Linked DNA regions of Homo sapiens: all the other regions are linked to region 4. Evidence: promoter capture Hi-C in 16 types of primary human blood cells and fetal thymus (Javierre and others, 2016). All regions are on one chromosome and are shown on one strand. The core of a region is centred on a gene start or on the middle of the fragment in contact, and the rest is flanking DNA. Distances in the headings are between cores, read along the strand shown.

Evidence for each region. The method cuts DNA at HindIII sites, captures the fragments that hold promoters and counts their contacts. A CHiCAGO score of 5 or more calls a contact.
Region 1: a fragment that was not itself captured here is called in contact with the fragment with the promoter of PIEZO1 in region 4 in 5 of 17 cell types (endothelial precursors, total CD8 T cells, M0 macrophages and 2 more); the score reaches 8.2 in endothelial precursors.
Region 2: a contact is called between a fragment that was not itself captured here and the fragment with the promoter of PIEZO1 in region 4, in 1 of 17 cell types (total CD8 T cells). The highest score is 5.2, in total CD8 T cells.
Region 3: a contact is called between a fragment that was not itself captured here and the fragment with the promoter of PIEZO1 in region 4, in 16 of 17 cell types (erythroblasts, naive CD4 T cells, naive B cells and 13 more). The highest score is 34.2, in erythroblasts.
Region 5: a contact is called between a fragment that was not itself captured here and the fragment with the promoter of PIEZO1 in region 4, in 1 of 17 cell types (neutrophils). The highest score is 5.1, in neutrophils.
Region 6: a fragment that was not itself captured here is called in contact with the fragment with the promoter of PIEZO1 in region 4 in 11 of 17 cell types (monocytes, fetal thymus, naive CD4 T cells and 8 more); the score reaches 8.4 in monocytes.

Annotation. Positions count from the first base shown.
Region 1 is chr16:89,154,385-89,156,884 of GRCh38, reverse strand. ACSF3 (acyl-CoA synthetase family member 3) reads right to left here. Exons shown (of 11, transcript NM_001243279.3): 11 at 652-2,500. Among named protein-coding and RNA genes, the nearest start is that of LINC00304, 3.6 kb to the left of the region's middle. The HindIII fragment of the contact is 360 bases long and covers 1,071-1,430 here.
Region 2 is chr16:89,235,581-89,239,363 of GRCh38, reverse strand. ZNF778 (zinc finger protein 778) reads right to left here. Exons shown (of 7, transcript NM_001201407.2): 7 at 2,223-3,783. Among named protein-coding and RNA genes, the nearest start is that of ZNF778, 20 kb to the right of the region's middle. The HindIII fragment of the contact is 4,676 bases long and covers 1-3,783 here.
Region 3 is chr16:89,215,579-89,219,132 of GRCh38, reverse strand. It overlaps ZNF778 (zinc finger protein 778), which reads right to left and starts at 1,430. Exons shown (of 7, transcript NM_001201407.2): 1 at 1,223-1,430. ZNF778-DT (ZNF778 divergent transcript) reads left to right here and starts at 1,480. Exons shown (of 1, transcript NR_186410.1): 1 at 1,480-3,554. RefSeq lists enhancers at 14-543, 544-1,074, 1,599-1,648, 2,598-2,892. The HindIII fragment of the contact is 989 bases long and covers 1,510-2,498 here.
Region 4 is chr16:88,782,700-88,786,540 of GRCh38, reverse strand. It overlaps PIEZO1 (piezo type mechanosensitive ion channel component 1 (Er blood group)), which reads left to right and starts at 1,321. Exons shown (of 51, transcript NM_001142864.4): 1 at 1,321-1,640. The coding sequence starts at 1,577. RefSeq lists silencers at 823-1,152, 1,193-1,672, 2,173-2,492 and an enhancer at 1,177-2,090. The HindIII fragment of the contact is 3,775 bases long and covers 1-3,016 here.
Region 5 is chr16:89,104,482-89,108,261 of GRCh38, reverse strand. All of the region lies in intron 4 of ACSF3 (acyl-CoA synthetase family member 3), which reads right to left. Among named protein-coding and RNA genes, the nearest start is that of ACSF3, 13 kb to the right of the region's middle. RefSeq lists an enhancer at 2,936-2,985. The HindIII fragment of the contact is 6,380 bases long and covers 1-3,780 here.
Region 6 is chr16:89,124,809-89,128,837 of GRCh38, reverse strand. All of the region lies in intron 7 of ACSF3 (acyl-CoA synthetase family member 3), which reads right to left. Among named protein-coding and RNA genes, the nearest start is that of LINC00304, 32 kb to the left of the region's middle. The HindIII fragment of the contact is 1,089 bases long and covers 706-1,794 here.

The sequences.
Region 1 (2,500 bases), core at 1-2,500, 370 kb before region 4:
CCTGTCTAGGCCTCAGTGGACCGGCCAGCCTAATGCCTGGGCTGCTGGCCTGGGCCCTATCTGTTAAACGAATGGAGGAGGCAGGAGCTGGGTCCATGGTCTCCCTGCCAGGGAAGCCGCAGGTGGAGGGAAGGCAGAGGGCGGCAGGGGCTTCACCCTGGCCCCTGATGAGGGAGGGGCAGAAAGAATGGGGCGGCACCTGCCACAGGCTGTGTGTGGGACTTTGCTGGCAGCAGCAGGCGCGGTGCCACGGCTTTGGGGACCAGCTGGTCACCAGGAGTCCTGCCATCCCCTGGTGCCTGAGAGAAGCTGGGCCACCCGCCTGGGAGCAGCTCCTGGCAGCACCCCTGTGTCTGGCTGGGGTCAGAACTGGTGACTTTCCAGATTCAAGCCAGCCTCCCTAGGAGGTCAAAAGCACCAGGCATGTAGAGGGGCTTCTGACCCAGCTGGTGGCAGCCTGCTCCCAGGGCACCTGCTCCTGGGTCTAACTTTTGTGGCATGGGGCCGCCCAGCAAGGGGCAGGGTGTGTGGGGTGGGCGCTGCCAGCCACGTGGGACTGTGGTATCCTCATGGAGCTCAGTCACGGTGAGTTCGCAAACAGCACCCCCCGGCCTGTGTCTCCAGAGGCCAGGTCAGCACCAGAGGCCAAGATGGGGAATAAACTGGGCTTTAATGGGGAGGGAGGAGAGGATGAGTTCCCTCCAGGACGGGCTTGTTCTCGGCTGGTGGAGCAGAGGGGAACCAGGGGCCTGGCTGGGCACTGGCGGACTGTGTGCACGAAGGCCGACCAGCCTGGCACAGGGACCAGCTGGAGAGTCACTCGTGACTTTAGAACACGGCATTCAACCGCATGTCCTTGGAGCACCGTATTCTGGTCAACCGGCTGGTCAACGAGCTCCAGGCTTTCTGTAGTTTGTGGTCAACGAGCTCCAGGCTCTCTGCAGTTTCTGGTCAATGAGCTCCAGGCTTTCTGTAGTTTGTAGTATTGTCAGCAGAAAGTTACACTCATTATTTCGAAAGCATGATATACTGATGTATACTATCGGATAAAGCAAATGATTATGTAAGCTTTTTAGGAATCAAAAGTTTCAGGATTAAAGGAGAGAGATGCAAATGTAAAATTAGTGGAATTAAGTAAAAATTTTGCTATGTTAAATTTGACCTTTTCCCAACAGAAGGCATTTCCTTAGCTACCAGCAAGGCCTAGACACAAACGTCTGGACTGTAGTCTCTGACTGCCGTTCCCTTGGGTCCAGGCCTCTGGCGGGAGGGCGGGACCCCTTCCTCTGACTGTTCCCGGGGTCAGGCCATGGGGATGCACAAGGCCACACCGTGAGGCAGGAGTTCGGGTGGGGCAGGGCCGTGGACTGGGGCACCCACCAGTCCTGGAAAACAGGGCTGGGACGCTGCTCTGTGGCCTCAGACAAGCTTGGTGGGCGACATGCTCAAGTGAGCAGGGGCCCCAGGCCACGTCCAACTGTCCGCGAGGCATGTGAGCCTGAGATGGGGCTGGTCTCCTGTCAGAGGCACGTGAGCCTGAGATGGGGCTGGCCTCCTGCCCGGCACACTCGTTTCTGGCCACTCTTTCAGACGTGCATTCCGGGGGCAGAATGTTCTGGGTAAGTTCAGGCCAGACACTGCTGGGCGATGACTGTTACTTCCCCCAGGCTGTGGGGAGGAGGCAGCCTATTCTTCTGAAAATTGTCCAGAAACTTCTGGATTCTGCATGTGGCCCCTGTGCATCTGAATTGGCCCCGCTAAGTAAATGCAACGTGGGTGCACCCAACATTCACAACACACCTTCCTGAGGTTTCTGCATCGGCCACGCCTGTGGGCTCCGGAGCTGGGTCTGGGGAAAAGCTGGTGAGCCACAGACATGAAATGGGGGCCATGGGGCAGGTGGGGGTCTGGGTGGAGACGGTGATGGGAGAGAGGGTTCACCGGCTGAGGGGCTGGTGTGGAGATGACCTGGAAAGTCCCTGCGCTGGGGGGTGAGGCAGGGTCACGGCAGAGCAGCTCCGGGGCCATCCGTCCACGCACTTTCTGTGACACATGCTGATGGACACACAGTAGTGTGCAGGGTGGCAGGTGTCCCCACAGTGGGAGCTGCTCTCCTCCAAGAGCAGCACCAGGAAATGCACGGAACCCATGGGACAGGGCTGGTTCTGGGAGGCTTGTGAACCCTCAGCTCCTCCCAGGAGGGCCCCCTGGGTGGCTGCCCAGACCTCCTATGTGGGCCGGGAGACACTGGCTCTGGGTGAGGCACAGGCACGTGCAGACGGCGTGGGACAGGGGCTTGTTTCCTCCAGTGGAGTCTTTGTTTTTTGTGGGAAACCTCTGGGACCTGCCCTGGAGAGCCTGGCAACTGCAGGGCACTGTGGGGCGGGAGGTGCCTCAGCACGTGGGGCCAGGGGCTGGCTGCACCGCGCTGCACAGATGAGGTCGGCGGTGACCAGGCAGAGGTGACACCAGGGACGGTCTCCTTGAGCTGCAACAACTG
Region 2 (3,783 bases), core at 556-3,055, 450 kb before region 4:
CAGTGAGCTGTGATCACACCACTGCACTGCAGCCTGTGGGACAGAGCAAATCCCCATCTAAAAAAAAAAAGTGTTTTAAAGTTTCCTCATGGCCGGGCACGGCCCGGTGGCTCACGCCTGTAACCCCAGCATTTTGGGAGGCCGAGACGGACAGATCATGAGGTCAGGAGTTTGAGACCAGCCAGGCCAACATGGTGAAATCCCGTCTCTACTAAAAATACAAAAATTAGCCGGGCGTGGTGGCAGGTACCTGTAATACCAGCTACTTGGGAGGCTGAGGCAGGAGAATCACTTGAACCCAGGAGGTGGAGGTTGCAGTGAGCCGAGATCATGCCACTGCACTCCAGCCTGGATGACAGAGCGAGACTCTGTCTCAAACAAACAAACAAACAAAAAGTTTCCTCATTTAGGTTTTATACATTTCTTGATAAATTTATTTCTAAGCATTGTTTTATTGCTATTATAAATAAGTTTTCTCTACTATCATATCACCTCACTGGTTATTGGTTGTGTAGATGAAGACCATCTATGTTTTGACGGCAACTTCACCTCCTCTAACTTACTAAATGTTTTTACTGATTCTACAGGGCTTTCCATGTATATCATATAATGCACACAAGAGATAGTTCACTTTTTTGCAAATCTGTTTTGCCCAATTGCATTAGGTAACACTTCCAGTACACACACACACACATATAGCTACAGACACAGGCGTCCTAAGAAAGTATTCACCAATTCCTATTTTGAGTGCGTCTATCAATAGTAGGTACCACATTTTCCCAAAGGCTTCATCAACACCTATGGATACAATCACATGCCTTATCTTCTTAGATGGATTCATATGGTGTAGTATTTAATAGGCTTTCTAATTGAACCAGTTGCAGTCTTAAATTCCACTTGGTCATGGTTTATTATTTTCTCAATGTGGTTTTGTATTATTTGCTAATATTTAACATAACTAATTTGAATCAATATAATTAACACTGTAATTTTTCATTTTTGTGGTCTTTTATCACATTTTGCTTTTAACTTTTATTTATGAGATGGAGTTTTGCTCTTGTTGCCCAGGCTGGAGTGCAATGGCGCTATCTCGGCTCATTGCAACCTCCACCTCCCGGGTTCAAGAGATTCTCCTGCCTCAGCCTCCCAAGTAGCTGGGATCACAGGTGCCTGCCACCATGCCCGGCTAATTTTGTATTTTTAGTACAGACAGGGTTTCGCCATGTTGCCCAGGCTGGTCTTGAACTGCTGGCCTTAAGTGAGCCAGCCACCTCAGCCTCCCAAAGTGTTGGGATTACAGGCATCAGCCACTGCACTCAACACCCTGTGGTAATTTTCTTTGTGCTGAAGTCATTTTTTCTGATGTTAAATACAGCCTCTCCACTTTATTATGTTTACATGGTACTATTAACCTATTTACGTCATTGTATTTGAAGTGTCTTGTAGATGACATACTGATGCGTCACACTTTTTATCTGTCCTATCTTTAAATAGCATGTGTAGATCATATTTTTTTTTTGAGATGAAGTCTTGCTCTGTTGCCCAGTCTGGAGTGCAGTGGCACGATCTTGGCTCATTGCAACCTCCACCTCCTGGGTTCAAATGATTCTCCTGCCTCAGGTTCCTGAGTAGCTGCGACCACAGGCATGAGCCACCAAACCTGGCTAATTTTTGTATTTTTAGTAGAGACAAGGTTTTACCGTGTTGGCCAGGCTGGTCTGGAACTCCTGACCTCAAGTGATCCACCCGCCTCGGCCTCCCAAAGTGCTGGGATTACAGGCGTGAGTGCCCAGCTGATCATGTGCACTAATGTGTTTGATTATCTAGGATTCAGCTCTACCAGTTATTTTTTATTTTTTATTTTAGACAGAGTCTTGCTGTCACCCAGGCTGGAGTACAGTGGCGCGATCTCAGCTCACTGCCACCTCCACCTCCCCGGTTCAAGTGATTCTCCTACCTCAGCCTCCCACGTAGCTCGAATTATAGGCTCCCACCATCACCCCTGGCTAACTTTGTATTTTTAGTAGAGACGGGATTTCACTATGTTGGCCAGACTGGTCTGACTCCTGACCTCAAGTGATCCGCCCGCCTCGGTCTCCCACAGTGCTGGGATGACAGGCCTGAGCCACCGCACCTGGCCACCACTTCGTTACCTACTTGTTCTCTTTTGTTCCCAGTACTCAGTTTCCCCTTTATCACAATTCTTTCAGGCTATTTAACACTTTTTTTAGTAGTATGTTTTAATTAACATATTGGACCATTTTAGTATATCTCATTGTCCTTTTTTTTTTTAGACAGAGTCTTGCTCTGTCACCCAGGCTGGAGTGCCGTGGCACAATCTCGACTGACTGCAACCTCCACCTCCTGGGTTCAAGTGATTCTCCTGCCTCAGCCTCCTGAGAAGCTGAGATTACAGGTGCCCCCAACCACACACAGCTAATTTTTGTATTTCTTAGTAGAGATGGGGTTTCACCATGTTGGCCAAGCTGGTCTCAAACTCCTGACCTCAAGTGATCCACCCACCTCACTCTCCCAAAGTGGTGGGATTACAGGCGTGAGCCACCACACCCAGCTGTACACTTCTTTAGTAATTAAAATATACAGACTTAGCTTTTCCAGTCCTTCTGGAATGGTATTTTGCCACTGAAATGGAGCACGGAACCTCCACGCCGTCCAGCCACGTTGCCCCTCACCTTCATGTTGTAGTTGTCTTATGTATTAAATATACATCAGTTGAAACCCCATGTGATAATTTTTGCTTTTGACAATAATATATATTTTAAAGAACTCAAGAGTAGAATGATCTGATCTATTTACTCAGGTATTTACTCTTCTATTGCTTTTCCTTTGTTCCAGGTTTCCTTAAGAGTTTTCTGTAACCATTTATTTAAACCAGGTCTGCAGGCAATTCTTTGTATTGCCTCATCGTTACTTCTGTTTCATTCCTAAAGGATATTTTGTTGGATATAGCAATCTGGGTTGGCATTTCTTTTTATTTCAGAACTTGAAAAATGCTCCTACATTTCCTGTTGGCCTCTATGGCTTCCGACGAGAAACCCGGTCAATTGAATTGTTCTTCTGGAAGCACTGTGTCCACTTTCTCAGCCTCCTTCCAAGACTTTCACTCTGTAGCTTTCGGCAGCTTCGTGGTGGCAGGGGCTTGGTTTTCTTTTCTTTCTTCTTTTTTGAGACAGAGTCTCGCTCTGTTGCCCAGGCTGGAGTGCAGTGGTGCAATCTCAGCTCACTGCATGCTCTGCCTCCCGGGTTCACGCCATTCTCCTGCCTCAGCCTCCCCAGTAGCTGGGACTGCAGTCGCCCGCCACCACGCCCAACTAAATTTTTGTATTTTTCTTTTTTTTTTTTTTTTTTACTAGAGACGAGGTTTCACTGTGTTGGCCAGGATGGTCATGATCTCCTGACCTTGTGATCCGCCCACCTCGGCCTCCCAAAGTGCTGGGATTACAGGTGTGAGCCACCGCCCCCGGCCTGGGCTTGGTTTTCTTTAGGTTTATCCTGTCTGGGGCTCATGGAACCTCTTCAAACTTAAGTTTTTATCTTACACCAAATATGAGAAATGTTTCATCATTATTTTTTCAAGTGGTTTTACTACATCACACTTTCTCCTTTTCTTCCAGGATACTGAGGTCATGAATGTTAGCCATTTGGTATCATAACACTGCTCCCCAAGGCTGTTGCACATATGCTGAATAATTTAAGATTATAGTCTACACTTCTGAATTTTAGGTTATGACACTCTGGGTCTGTCAGTCCCACGGGTGATGG
Region 3 (3,554 bases), core at 755-3,254, 430 kb before region 4:
TTATTTTTTTATTTTTTTATTTTTTTGAGACGGAGTCTTGCTCTGTCGCCCAGGCTGGAGTGCAATGGCACGATCTTGGCTCACCGCAACCTGTGCCACCCAGGTTCAAGCGATTCTCCTGCCTCAGCCTCCCGACTAGCTGGGATTACAGGCATGCGCCACCATGCAAGGCTAATTTTGTACTTTTAGTAGAGACGGGATTTCTCCATGTTAGTCAGGCTGGTCTTGAACTCCCGACCTCAGATGATCCACCCGCCTCGGCCTCCCAAAGTGCTAGGATTACAGGCGTGAGCCACTGTGCCCAGCGGACCTTATTATTTTTAATTATTATTATTATTTTTTGAGACGGAGTCTCGCTCTGTCGCCCAGGCTGGAGTGCAGTGGCGCCATCTCGGCTCACTGCAAGCTCCGCCTCCCGGGTTCACGCCATTCTCCTGCCTCAGCCTCCAGAGTAGCTGGGACTACAGGAGCCCGCCACCACGCCCGGCTAATTTTTTGTATTTTTAGTAGAGATGGGGTTTCACCGTGTTAGCCAGGATGGTGTCGGTCTCCTGACCTCGTGATCCACCCGCCTCGGCCTCCCAAAGTGCTGGGATTACAGGCGTGAGCCACCGCGCCCGGCCTAATTTTAATTTTCTTAGATGAAATACTAATATTGTGGTTTCAGTAGGATAATGTCCTTACCCTTAACAGACGCTTTACCAAGTATTTAAAGGTTAAGTATCATGTGTGCAGTTTAATTTCAACTTACTTACACTCAAATAATAATTCACCGTAAGGTTTATTTATTGGGGGAGAGAGAAAACATGGCCCAAAGCTAAAAAGGAGTAAAACGATTGCAGTGGATATTCCTTGTAGCAGATGTTCACATTTTTATTAGATTCAGATTTTCTAAAGCAAAACGTGAGAAAAAATACAGTTAGTCGAAACACACTGTTCACCGTGGATTCGATTACTCCAAGACCAGCGGGACAACGGCCGCATCCCTCCCGCCCCGAGGGCCGGGCCTGGAAGTCCCGGCGGCGAGGGACGCGCGCTCCCGCTGGCCCCCACGGGCTAACTTTCACAGGGAGCTGCACGCCCGGGGCGCTCAGGGGTCTACCTTACGCTTCGGTCCCAACACAATGTGCCAGAAACAAATAAAAAACGTCAAAGCCGAAGCCAGATTCTCACAGAAACACGCCCTGTTCAAAGTGAAGGAAGCAAAGGGCCCCTCTCTCACCAGCTCCGCGGAATGGAAGCGCTGCCCGGGTCTACCGCGAGCGGCGGCGACTTTCCCTTCTGGAAGCGGTGCCGGGGGCGCAAGGCGCGAGGCAGGCGGGCGGGCGCCCACTCCCGGACCAGCTTCCCCGCGGACAGCCCGAGGACACGCGCGGAACTCTCCGGCGCCAGCACGCACCGCCGCAAGAACCGGATCAGCTGTAAGACAGGCGGAGGCGGGGCCGGCGCCGGAAGAGGGGCCGGCGCGTCTTTGGCGTCACTTCCGCCTCCAGCCTCCGGGCCGAAGCTTTGGCCTATGGTGCGGGGAGGTAGTAGTTTCTTCCGCGAGGGTGCGGGAGGGCCCCGGGGCGCCCTTGGGAACCGGGCTGGAGGCAGAGACAGGCCCGGAGGACCAGGCGGACGTAAGGATCAGGCCTCTGGACGCAACTGCGGAGCCGGAACAGACCAGGAGGGCGCGGTTGGGCGGGTACAGCCAGGAAGTGCTCGTCGCGAGCGCGGCCCGCGGTTCGGTCACAGCGAGAAGCCCGCGGGTGCTGGGAGTGCTCGGTCTTCTCTCGATCTCTGCAGGGAGTCACTGGCCCCGTTCCTTTTTATCTGTCTGAACATCACGCCGAACTTTTAACAGTTGATTCCACTGCATTTTCAATGTGGTATTTTTTTTTTCTGTAAATGTTCATCTATTTTTCGCTTCAAATATGCGTTTCTGTTACTTTTCTAATGTACCGTAGGAGCCAAGACCACCTATACTACGTTGCAAAATAGCACTGATACCAGGGGTTCTCCCAAGGTTCATTCAGAAATGTCACATGATTCCAGTAACAATACGAAAAGGTTTTTTTTTTGGAACCAGGCATATTGATCCTGGAGTTCACATGGAGGAACAAATGTCTCATAACGCAGACGACGCGGACAAACAAAAGCGCAATGCCCGACAGATGCGAAAACAGCCTCTGTCATTAAAACTGTGTGCTAGTGACACATGAACAGGAAACAAATGGAATATCCAGACATCAACCCAGTAACATGGAAATTTGGTTCATAAACATAATTTCAGAGCGGTGGAACAAACATGCAGTTTATAATGAAAGGTGCTAAGACAAATGGTTAGCCGTCTGAGAAATGATGAAATTAATTCTGGATCTCACAGGGATAAACTCCAAACGGATCAGGAGTCTAAATGTGAAAAACAAAACAAAACCACATGTGAAGTGTTCACGTGATTTCGTGGCTGATTAAGAAACAAGATGTGCCCAGGAGGTGGCGGTGGCGCACAAGCTTTGACAGGTTGGAGGGTGAGGGAGTCTCACGCACCATGAGATTACCCACAGGCTTCGAATTGGGGGTCACTACTCAGAAAAGAGAAAAAAATGAGCGTGGGCGGGGGGCGCGCAGAGAACTCCCAGAGAAGAAGGAGATCAGACAGGGGGAGGGCTGACGTGACTAGATCACGTTTCTCAGCAGCCTGACAGGTGTCTGAGTCACAAAGCTCTGAAGGGCAGCAACGGCTTGCAGTCTTTAGAGCCCCAGGATTTATCTTATCTATGGCTAGCAGAGATTGGACACAATTTCACGAAGTATACAAAGCAACCACATGCTAAATGGTTCAACACTATGAGTGTTTGGGATGTGTTTTATTTATTATTTATTAATTTTGATACGGAGTCTCCCTCTGTCGTCCAGGCTGGAGTGCAGTGGCACGATCTTGGCTCACTGCAACCTCCGCCTCCCAGGTTCCAGCTATTCTCCTGCCTCAGCCTCCCAAGTAGCTGGGATTACAGGTGCCCACCTTGTAATTTTTAGTAGAGACGGAGTTTCACCATGTTGGCCAGGCTGGTCTCAAACTTCTCACTTCAGGTGATCCACCCGCCTCGGCCTCCCAAAGTGGTGGGATTACAGACGTGAGCCACTGCAGCCACCGTGCCTGCCCTTGGGATATGTTTTTTTTTCTTTTAATTTTGTTTTGTTTTGTTTTTTTGAGACGAAGTCTTGCTCTGTCGACCAGGCTGGAGTGCAGGGGCACAATCTTGGCTCACCGCAACCTCCGCCTCCCAGGTTCAAGCGATTCTCCTGCCTCAGCCTCCAGAGTAGCTGGGATTACAGGCACGTGCCACCAAGCCCAGCTAATTTTTGTATTTTTAGTAGAGATGGGGTTTCACCATGTTAGCCAGGATGGTATCTATCTCTTGACCTCGTGATCCTCCTGCCTCAGCCTCCCAGACTGCTGAGATTACAGGCGTGAGCCACCGCACGGATATGTTTTAAGTAACTGAATGTATTAAAATTTGACTTTGGCACCAGCAGGCTATTGTGAATAATGTTGCTTTGAGCATCGT
Region 4 (3,841 bases), core at 72-2,571:
CTGGAGTGCAGTGGCGCTATCTCGGCTCACTGCAAGCTCCGCCTCCTGGGTTGATGCCATTCTCCTGCCTCAGCCTCCCGAGTAGTTGGGACTACAGGAGCCCGCCACCACGCCCGGCTAATTTTTTATGTTTTTAGTAGAGATGGGTTTTCACCGTGTTAGCCAGGATGGTCTCGATCTCCTGACCTGGTGATCCACCCGCCTCGGCCTCCCAAAGTGCTGGGATTACAGGCGTGAGCCACCGCGCCCGGCCTAATTTTTGTATTTTTAGTAGAGACGGGGTTTCACCATGTTGGCCAGGCTGGTCTCGAACTCCTGACGTCAAGTGATCCCCCGACCCCCTACCCCCTTGCCTCAGCCCCGCAAAGTGCTGGGATTACAGGCCTGAGCCACTGCCCCGCCATCTTTTTTTTTTTTTTTTTTTTTTGAGCTGGAGGGTGTGGGCTTGTGCTGGGCTCTCATGAGTTGCCAGTGCCTTGAGGCTCAGTGGCCACAGTCCCCCCAGCCCCACTCCCTGCCTTACGCAGCTGAGTTTGAGAGCCATGAACTGAGCCCAATTAAACGGTGTAGAGCCCTTTGCCCTCTTTCTGTGCCCATCTCAAGGGCAGACGAAGGCCAAACTGACGTGGCCTGGGTGAGGGTCCCGAACACCCTGGACTCAGACCCTACCTCTCCGTGGCAGGGCGCCGCGGCAGCAGGTGCACAGGCCGTGGCTCTCACTCTCACCGTCTCACGCCAGAGCGACCCGGGCAAAGCCGCGCGCGGTGGCCGGCGTGGCTGGGAGCAGCCCCCGAGCCCCCGTCAGACCAACGCGGATCGCGGCACTGCTGCGACCCGAGCATCCCGCGTGCTCCCTCCGGGACCACTAGGCCCGGCCGCCGCGGGAACTCCGAGCCTCCCCACGGTCCCCAGGGGGCGCTGCGTGCTCGCGCCTCGGGGAGCAAAGCGAAAGTCGCTCGGGCACGCGGGGTGCAGTTGCGCGTGGGGCGCTGCCTGGGGGAGCCAGAGGCCCCGGGACCCCTTATGTAGCGCCCGGGCCCCAGCCGCAGCCCACCCAGCGAGAAGCGCCCCTGCCCACCGCCGCGCACGCTCGGAGCCGCGGGGCCAAGACTGCGGGAGGGGAGGGGTCCGCTCCGGGCCAGCGCCAGTCGGGGGTCTCCAGGCCCCAACGCACCAGGGCGGGCCGGAGGCGGGACGGGCCGCGCGGGACAGCGGAGGGGGTGCCTGGGCGCGCCGGGCCGTCGGGGAAGCGCGGAGGCGGGCACGCCGGGGAGGGCGGGAGGGGGCCGAGCTTATAAAGGCCCGCGGGCGGAGGAGGGCGGGAGCCGCCGTCCGGCCCAGCTCGGCCCCAGTGAGCCGAGCGCTGCGCTCCGCCGAGGGGCAGGGCGGTCGCCTGAGCGAGCGCGGGCCCGGGACGTCGGCACCGGCGGGGCGGCCGAAGGAGAAGGAGGAAGAGGAGAAGGCGGCGCGCGGGTCCCCGCGGGTCAGCCATGGCGCGCCGGCCCCGGGGCCCCCGCACCGCCCCATAGCGCCGCGGCGTCCGCTCGGTCTGGGCCGGGCCCTGGGCCCTCCAGCCATGGAGCCGCACGTGCTCGGCGCGGTCCTGTACTGGCTGCTGCTGCCCTGCGCGCTGCTGGCTGGTGAGTGGGGGGCGGGCGCCTGGGGGCGACGGGAGGGGGCTGCGTCTCGGCTCCCCACGGCCTGGACACCGGACGACGCCGGCCGGGGCGAGGGCTGCGGGCGAGCGGGCGCGGAAATTCCCAGGGACGCGCGACCCGGGCGCCCGCATTCCTGAAGCATGAGCGCGCCAGGCGGCGGCGGGGCTCCTGTCCCAGGGCCGGGCTGGAAGGGCGGCGGCGGCTGGGGGAGACGGCACCGCGTGCCCACGGGGGCGGTCGAGCGAGCGCCGGGCATAGCGCGGCTGGCGTCTCCGCCGGGGCGCTGCGGAGAGGAGGCCGCCGGGCGAGGCGGTGTTTGCCCCGGTGGGAAGGGCCGCGGCGGTGGTGGGGGGAGCACGAATCTCTTTTTCTCTTTCGGGTTTAAAAAAAAAAGCGCAAAGTTGCATCAGGACTTCCTGACAATCTGGGAGAAGGCGGGCTTCCTGCCTGGAGCTGTTTAATTTGGAGCTTCCCGAGCCCAACGAACGTCCGTGCCCAGGGCCCAGCCCCGCTCACCGCTGCACCCCCCTCTGCCGGACTGAGGCGGTCCCACACTTTGGAAAAAAATAGTGTGGGTTCCTCCCTGGTCCTCCCTTGCCCTACTGGGCTCAGTTTCGCAGGGGCGGGGGCCGGCCTCTGCCCTGGTCTGGGGGAGGGGACACCCCCGGAGGCTGTGGCCTGGTGTCAGGGCGGGGCAGGGGTCCCCAGTCCTGGCATCTGTGTTCCCTGCTTGCCGGGCAGTGGTGCCCCTTTCGCGAAGCACACCCGGGTGGCTTGGTGCTGCACGGCCTGGCACCCCTACCCTTCCCCGACCCTGGCCTAGCCGGGACCCAGGGTCCGCGCCCTCCGCCCGGGGGCTCCCCACGTGTGATTGATCTGGGAAGCAGTCGGATGGAATTAACCCACGGACAAGTGGGACGGTTTGCATTGGGAGTCCGCCATGGACACGGCAGGTGGGGCCTTTTGATTGTAAAAGCCCTTTCGGAGCCCTTGCCTCGCTCCAGGTGGGAGCTCGCCCAGCGCTAGCTTTGGGGATCTAGAGCCGCCTGCCTGAGGCTCCCAGACAGACTGCGTTTTGATCGGTCGCACAGAAAGGTGGTGAAACTTGGGGAAGATTTTCTAGACAGGAATCAATGAAAACCATTGAGGCTGGAGAGGAGAGGTTTTGAGCAACTCTCTTCAGTGCGGTCAGCCCTGTGTGGACTGGGCAGCCTGGGACCTGCTCCCAGTGCAGGGTCAGATGGGCCGTAAACAGGGCCCGGCTGTGTTCCTTCCTGTGCCTTGAAAACAAGCAGGACAGCCTGGCACAGAGGCAGAGTCTAGAGCTGACAGGCCTTAGAGAGGGAAACAGGAAAGCTTCTGAAACGTCCCGTTCACACTGATCGTTCCATTTCCTCTTGTGTCTGAGTGGGAGCGGGTGTCCTCCCTGCAGGGAATGCCCCCCCTCTCAGATGGCAGCTGCTCCTTGGGCAGAGTTGGCAATGTTTTTCTTTAAATGACCAGATGGTAAATATTTTCATGTCACAAAATCTTCTTCTTCTGGTATTTTTCCAGCCATTAAATGTAAAAGCCCTCCTGAGTTCATGGGCTGTACCTAAACAGGTGTTGAGCCCGATTCTGTGGCACATGTGGTTTGCTGCCCCCTGGGCATTGGTCAGGGGGCCTGGGTTCTGCCTTCTCGATTGCTATCCGCGTGGGGGATCTGGGGGAGGGATCACTGTTCTTCTTGCTTTTGGCCTCCTTGGGGAGGATGGGGAGGTAGCCCAGGGGTGCTCACCCAGGCCCCGTGTCAGTCTTCTATGAAACTTTTAAAGAATAGTGATGACTGACTGTCTGTCTGTATGGTACTTTCCTTAAACCTAAAACTGGTCCCAAATAAAGTCTCTTAATTTGAAAGATGCTGAAGCCCGGGCCATACCCCACACTGATTCTGTGTCTGGGGATGGGGCGTGGGGCCTGGGCCTCACTCAGTGTTTTCTCTCAGTCACCTGGGGGAGATGGAAGTGGAGCCGGCCAAGAACCCTGCCTGCCTGCCTGCTGGCCGGGACTCCTGAGTCAGGCTCTCTGGCCCTGGGGTGTGGGCAGCTCCAGATGGACCCGCGATGTGCAGGTTCAGCTGGCCTGGCCGGAGGTGGGACACTGGCTTTGCTGTCTTTGGAGTGCCCCCTCCCTCTCTGGCGAGC
Region 5 (3,780 bases), core at 802-3,301, 320 kb before region 4:
GGGGAATTTAACAAATTTAAGGACTCCTGATATGGTTTGATGGCATCCCCACCCAAATCTCAACTTGAACTGTATCTCCCAGAATTCCCACGTGTTGTGGGAGGTGCCCAGGGGGAGGTAATTGAATTATGGGGGCCGGTCTTTCCTGTGCTATTCTCATGATAGTGAATAAGTCTCATGAGATCTGATGGGTTTATCAAGGGTTTCCGCTTTTGCTTCTTCCTCATTTTCTCTTGCCACCGCCATGTAAGAAGTGCCTTTTGCCTCCCACCATGATTCTGAGGCCTCCCCAGCCATGTGGAACTGCGAGTCCAATTAAACCTCTTTTTCTTCCCTGTCTTGGGTATGTCTTTATCAGTAGTGTGCACACGGACTAATACAGTAAATTGGTACCAGCAGAATGGGGCTGGGGGCGTATGAAACATGCAGCCACATTTGGGGCTGGGGTGTGTGAAACATGCAGCCACGTTTGAGAACTCTTCCGCAGTTTCCACTGAAATGAAACATACATCTAGCCTGTGAGCCGGCACTGGGAGTTGCGGATCCAAGGGAACTGTCCACAGGGACATCTGTGTGAGAATGTTCATAGCAACCGTGACTTCTAATAGCCACAAACTGAAAACAATCTCAAGTCCTTCAAGAGCAGAATGGATAAGCGCACTGTGGCTTCTGCACACCAGGAAATACAACACAGCAACGTAAAAAGAACAAACTGCATTTGATGTAACACACAGATCAACAGCACAGTGAACCAGAAACACAAACGTGACACTGAGGCACGGAAAACGGAGCACGCGTGTAGCAGGATGGTGCCGAGGCGGGGAGAGCACGCGTGTAGCAGGATGGTGCCGAGGTGGGGAGAGCATGCGTGTAGCAGGATGGTGCTGAGGCGGGGACAGCATGCACGCAACGGGACAAGGCTGAGGGGCAGGGAGCAGGCGCGGAGGTGAAAGACACGAAGGACGGTCTTTCTTGGAATTCATCCAAATCTTCAGAGGGCAGCTGCTGCCCTAAAGAAGGGCACTGAGAGCCGAGGGTGACCTTCTTCCTCCAGCACATCCCAATGTGTTGCCACACTTCCAAGACGTGAAAGACCTGGAGGCCCCCTGAAGGGCGCCATAACATTTGACTAACTAGCAAGTGCTTCTGAGGTGGCAGGAGCAGGCCTGTTGCTCTAACCTGAGCTGCCACAGCACAGACCCTGCCAGATGGCAGCCCTCCTGAGTCCATGCTGCGATCCTGAGGAAGTCGGCCAGGGCAGTGCTGTTGGAGACGAGTGACTGATCTGAGCCTCTGGCTGTCTCGTCAGTGGTGACTTTGATCTCCAGAGGCTGTGGCTGCACATCCATCTTCCGGCATCCTCCTCCTCTCCCCCAACCCCATCCGTCACCTGCAGGCACTGACACCCACGGCCCTCTGTGCAGGATGACTTGAAGACACCGCGTCTGAGATCGTTCAGCACCACCGCAGGTGTCTGGTCACCCCACACTTGTATCCTACACATTCTTCCACACAATCTTAGACAAAATCCCAAAGTTCAATAACGCTGACAGCTGGATTTTACACATAGAAATTCCTAAAGTTGGAAAACCCTGAAACTTGGAGTTTATGGAAAAGAGTTGCAATCCTTTGTAGCCACAGCATCAAATTTGTTTAAATATTAAGTTTTCAGCTGGGCATAGTGGCTTACGTCTGTAATCCCAGCACTTTGGGAGGCTGAGGCAGGTGGATCATGAGGTCCGGAGTTCTAGACCAGCCTGGCCAACATAGTGAAACCCCGTCTCTACTAAAAATACAAAAAATTAGCTGGCTGTGGTGGCAGGTGCCTGTAATCCCAGCTACTCAGGAGGCTGAGGCAGGAGAATCGCTTGAACCCAGGAGGCGGAGGTTGCAGTGAGCCGAGATCGTGCCACTGCACTCCAGCCCGGCTAACAGTGCGAGACTCCATCTCAAAAAAAAAAAAAATTAAGTTTTCACAGCATAGTTTAAAGAAAAATCCCAAGTAAGTGTCAAAAACGGTGAAGGTCTGAGGCTTTCCCGTGTCCGTTGAAGGTCTGAGGCTTTCCCGTGTCCATTAATGAGCCAGTCTGCAGTGTCTGGAAGATGACAGCAGATCCCCAGGCAGAGACCCCAGGGTAGACACTCTCGGAGCAGAAATCCCTGGGCAGACGCCCTTGGGACACAGACCCCAAGGCAGGGACCCCCTGGCAGATGCCCCTGGGCAGAGACGCCGCAGCAGCAGCTCCCAAGCCGTGTGCCTGTGGGCACTGGAAAGGGCCAGGTGGTGTCATTCATGCAGTGCTGGAGAAGCAGCAAGACCAGAAAGCCCAGATCCTTGACAGCTGGCCTGCGCCAGCACCCACACCCACCTGCCTCTCGCCCTGAGGGTAACACACTCTTTACTTGGGAGGATGGAACCAACCTGCCCTCCGGGACGATGGAACCAACCTGCCCTCAGCTCCCTGGGAGATGTTCTGCCTCTGCCCCTGCCAGCTGCATCTCGCCCTGGCACGGTCCACGACAATGGCCGTTGCTGCCTCTGCCCAAGTGACCATGGTAGACCAGCCACCGTCAGCGCCCGGGCAGCCCCCAACAGAGGTTCAGGGCCAGGCTGCCAAGGAGCAGAGGCCAAGGTGGGGCAGGTTGAGGGGGCCCAGTCACAGGCACAGAAACTGACACCCTGGACAGAGCTGACCGCCAAAGGAAAGGAGGAGCTTAAGGCGGAGAGGAGGGAGCTGCCCCGTCAGAGGAGCCCCCAGAGACACAGCAAAGGCATGGAAGTTCCCTACACACCAGGCGCTGCACCACCCACACAGTGCACTCACGGGGAACTCACTGCAGCAAAACCACTTTGACTCAGCAGACGTTCACCAAGGACAGCTGTGTCCATGCAGGGCGCACCCCAGAGAGAGCCGCAAGGAGGGTCGGGTCACTGAGCCAGATCCCTACCAGGGGAGCCAGGAAGGCCTGGAGCAGAGCGCCAGGCAGATGTCTCCGGGATGGACCACGCAGATGAGGCAGCCGCAGTGTCTGCCATCTTAACAGACTGCTGTGTCGCAGCTGGGGTCAGGGCTGAGATGTCTGTGAAAAATAAGGACTGAAGCCAACAAGAATGTGGAATGTGTTAGGGAGACGGGGCCCTCAGGGAGGCTCTTCAGGGGGTGACCCTGGCGACGGGGCCCTCAGGGAGGCTCTTCAGGAGGTGACCCTGGCGACGGGGCCCTCAGGGAGGCTCTGTGGCTACAGGCGTCCTGAAGAGCAGTGGAGGGAGCTGACGGCTAATCACGCAAGTGTGCTGGCAGCCACCTCTCTTTGGCACGGTAGTAACTGCTAGATTTTAAAGAGGTCTTTCTCTAAAGCCCAATGTTATCATCTGTGAAGAAACAGGCTCACTTGCTCGTACAAAGCTGTTCTACATACTGGCTTCTCTTGTGAGACCTTGCCTCCAGTGGAGGCTAGAGAAGAGCCCCTTCTCTTTTCCAAGTTTGTGCCCACTGTGAGCCGGCCTCCAACCTTATTTTCCGGGGATGAGACTGAAGGTCAGAGAGGTGGAGGGCCAGAAAAGCTGCCTTCTCTCCACCTCCAGCCACCGTGTGGGGCTGGATGCCCTGCAGAGAAGAGGATGGGCCTCTCAGCGGCAGGAGAAGCAGAGGGAAGGTGGGCAGGGCTGACTGCTTGCAGGGACCCCTTCCTGGCGAAATTCACACCTGACTAGGGTTTGGGTCCTGAGCTCCCGGTCAGAGGCCTCAGAGCTCCACACAGCCTTCGATGGGGCCAGAA
Region 6 (4,029 bases), core at 1-2,500, 340 kb before region 4:
ACTCTTTTCAAGTACACCAGAACATTCCTGAAAAGAAACCACATTCTGGGCCACAAAACACAACTTAACAAATTTAAAAGAATTGAAATATACCAAGTGCGTCTTTTGACTGTAATGGACTTAAACTAGAAATCAGTAACAGAAAGATAATGGAAAAATATCCAACTATTTGGAAAATATGTGCTATACTTCTAAATAATCCACAAGTCAAAGAGGAAGTCTTAAGGAACATTAAAAATATTTTGAACTAAATGAAAATAAAAATATATCAAAATTTAGGTCAGGCGTGGTGGCTCATGCCTGTAATCTCAGCACTTTGGGAAGCCGAGGTGGGTGGATCACTTGAGGTCAGGAGTTCGAAACCAGCCTGACCAACATGGTGAAACCCCATCTGTACTAAATACAAAAAATTAGCTGGGCGTGGTGGCGCATGCCTATACTCCCAGCTACTCAGGAGGCTGAGGCAGGAGAATTGCTTGAACCTGGGAGGCTGAGGTTGCAGTGAGCCAAGATCATGCCATTGCACTCCAGCCTGGGCAACGAGAGCGAAACTCCGTCTCAAAAAAAAAAAAAGAAAAAAGAAAAAAATATATATATATTATATATAAATTTGGGGATGCAGCTAAAGCAATGCTTAAGGGCAACGTACGTCATTAAATGTACACATTATAAAGAGGAAAGGTCTCAAATCAATAATCTAAAGCTTCACCTTAAGCAACTAGAAAAAGAGAAAAGCCAGAAGCAAGTAGAAGAAACCAAGAACTAGTGAAACTGAAAACAGAAAAACAGTAAAGAAAAATCAATGTATCCAAAAGTGACTTCTTTGAAAAAAGAGCCATAAAACAGATAAACTTCTAGCAAGGATAACAAAGAAAAAAGAAACAGAAGACACAAATTACCAACATGAGGAATGGGAGCCACATAACTTCAGGCCCTGAAACCATTAAAAGGTTAAGATGGGAATTCCCTTATTAACCTTTTAATCAACCTTTTAATGGTTTCGTGGCCTGAAGGGAAACTCTACATAAAGAAACTTAACAGATTAAATGAACCAATTCCTCAAAAATGATATGTACCAAAAATCACCCAAGATGCAACAGATGACCTGAACAGTCCTATAAGCACTAAAGAAATTGAATTCATAGTTCTTTTTCTTTCAAAAAAGAAACGTTGGTAGGGCACAGTGGCTCACACCTGTAACCCTAGCACTTTGGGAGGCGAGGAGGGAGAATCACTTGAGGCCAGGAGTTCAAGATCAGCCTGGGCAATATAGTGAGACCCCCAACTCTACAAAAATAAAAATAAAAAATTAGCTGGGCATGTTGGCACATGCCTGTGGTCCCAGCTACTTGGGAGGCTGACGCAGGATCACTTGAGCCCAGGAGTTCAAGGCTCCAGTGAGCTATGATTGCACCACTGCACTCCAGCCTGCGTGACAGAACGAGACCTTATCCCCCACACACAAAATAATAATAATAGAAAAGAAAACCTCTAGGCCCAGATGATTTCATTGGTGAATTCCACCAATCATTGAAAGAAGAAATAATACCAATTCTACACAATCTCTTCCAGAAAAAAAAAGAGGAGAGAACACTTCCCAACTCATTTAATGAGGCCAGCATCACCCTCAAACACAACCCAAAGAAAGTACAAAAATGGGAAACTACAGACCAAAATTTCTTATGAATACAGATGCAAAAATACTCAGCAATATGCTAGCAAATCAAATCCAGTACTATATATAAAAAAATGACCCACCAGGACCAAGTGGGGTTTGTCCTGGGAATGAAAGCTTGGTTCAATGTAATCTACCATATTAACAGCCTAATAAAGAAAAGTCCATCAATACCGAAAAGCTTTTTGAAAATATTCAACATACATTTAGTGATAAAAAGTCTAAGCACATTATAGATAGAATGGAATCTGCAAAAAGCCAGTAACTAACACACTTGCTGAAAGACTGAATCCTTTCCCTAAGATCAGAAATAAGAAGGTCCACTCGGACTGCTTCTGTTCAGTATCGTATTGGAAGTCCTAGTCAGGGCTTTGGTCATACAGGTTGGAAAGGAAGAAATAAAACTGTTTGTATTTGCAGAAAACATGATTGTATTTGTAGAAATTCCCAAGAAGTCTATTAAAATCTCCTAAAACTAGTAAGTTAATTTAGCAAGGTAACAACTAAAGTATTTGAGGCCAACACACAAAAATCAATTCTATTTCTACCTACTAGCAATGAACAGTTGAAAACTAACAACAGCAACAAAAACGTGACTGTGTGCAGAGGCTCATGCCTGTAATCTCAGCATCTTGGGAGGCCGAGGCGGGCAGATCACTTGAGGTCAGGAGTTTGAGACCAGCCTGGCCAACATGGTGAAACCCTGCCTCTATTAAAAATACAACAATCAGCCAGGTGTGGTGGCACACATCTGTAATCCCAGCTACTGGGGAGGCTGAGGCATGAGAATCACTTAGACCCAGGAAGTAGAGGTTGCAGTGAGCTGAGATCGTACCACTACACTCCAGCCTGGGCGAAAGGACAAGATTCTGTCTCAAAAAAACAAACAACTCTCCCCCCATACCCACCTGCCATACTTACAATAGTTTAAAAAGGAGAGGAAAAGGAGGAGAAGAAATAGGAGGAATAAAGAAAAGAAGAAACATTTACTTATAAATTTAACACAAGTACAGCATCTATATGCTGAATACAACACAGAAGAAACCAAAGTATATCTAAATGGAGAGACACACCATGTTCACTGATCTAAGTAAATGGAGAGACAGACCGTGTTCACAGATCTATGTAAATGGAGAAACATACCGTGTTCACGGATCTAAGTAAATGGAGAGATATACCGTGTTTGCGGATCTAAGTAAATGGAGAGACATACCGTGTTCACGGATCTACGTAAATGGAGAGACACACCAGGTTCACGGATCTAAGTAAACGGAGAGACACACTGTGTTCACGGATCTAAGTAAACGGAGAGACACACCGTGTTCACGGATCTAAGTAAATGGAGAGACATACCATGTTCATGGATTGGAAGACTCAGCATAGTAATTGTTAATTCTCCCCCAAGTGATCTCCCCGATCAGAATGGCTAAATTCCAATCAACATCTCTCTCTCTCTCTCTCTCTTTTTTTTTTTGAGGCAGTCTCACTCTGTTGCCCAGGCTGGAGTGCAGTGGTGCAGTCTTGGCTCACTTCAACCTCCACCTCCCAGGCTCAAACAATTCTTGTGACTCAGCCTCCCGAGTAGCTGGGATTACAGGCGTGTGCCACCACACCTGGCTAACTGTATTTTCAGTAGAGACAGGGTTTTACCATGTTGGCCAGGCTGGTCTTGAGCTCCTGGTCTCAAGTTGATTAGCCTGCCTTGGCCTCCCAAAATGCTGGGAATACAGGCATGAGCCACTACACCTGGCTTTCCATTCAAGACCTCAAAAGAACTTTTTGTAGATATAGACAAGCTAATTCTTTTTTTTTTTTTTTTGAGACAGAGTTTTGCTCTTGTTGCCCAGGCTGGAGTGCAGTGGCGTGATCTCGGCTCAGTGCAAACTCCGCCTTCTGGTTTCAAGTGATTCTCTTGCCTCAGCCTCCCAAGTAGCTGGGATTACAGGCACCCACTACCATGCCTGGCTAATTTTTGTATTTTTAGTAGAGACGGGTTTCATCATCTTGGTCAGGCTGGTCTTGAACTCCTGACCTCAGGTGATCTGCCCACCTTGGCCTCCCAAAGTGTTGGGATTACAGGTGTGAGCCACCAGGCCCGGCTAGACAAGCTAATTCTAAAATTAATATGTGCACCAAAACAACTCTGAGAAAGAATAAAGCTGGTGAAATCACACTACAATTGTTAAGACCTACTATAAAACCACAACAGTCAAGATAATGTGGTGTCGGTAGAGGAATGGAAACATAGATCAAGGGAACAGAACAGATAACCTGTATGTAGACCCTCTCAAATATGTCCAATTAATCTTTGGCAAAGTGGCAATGGCAATGCAATGCAGAAAGGGTAGTCTTTT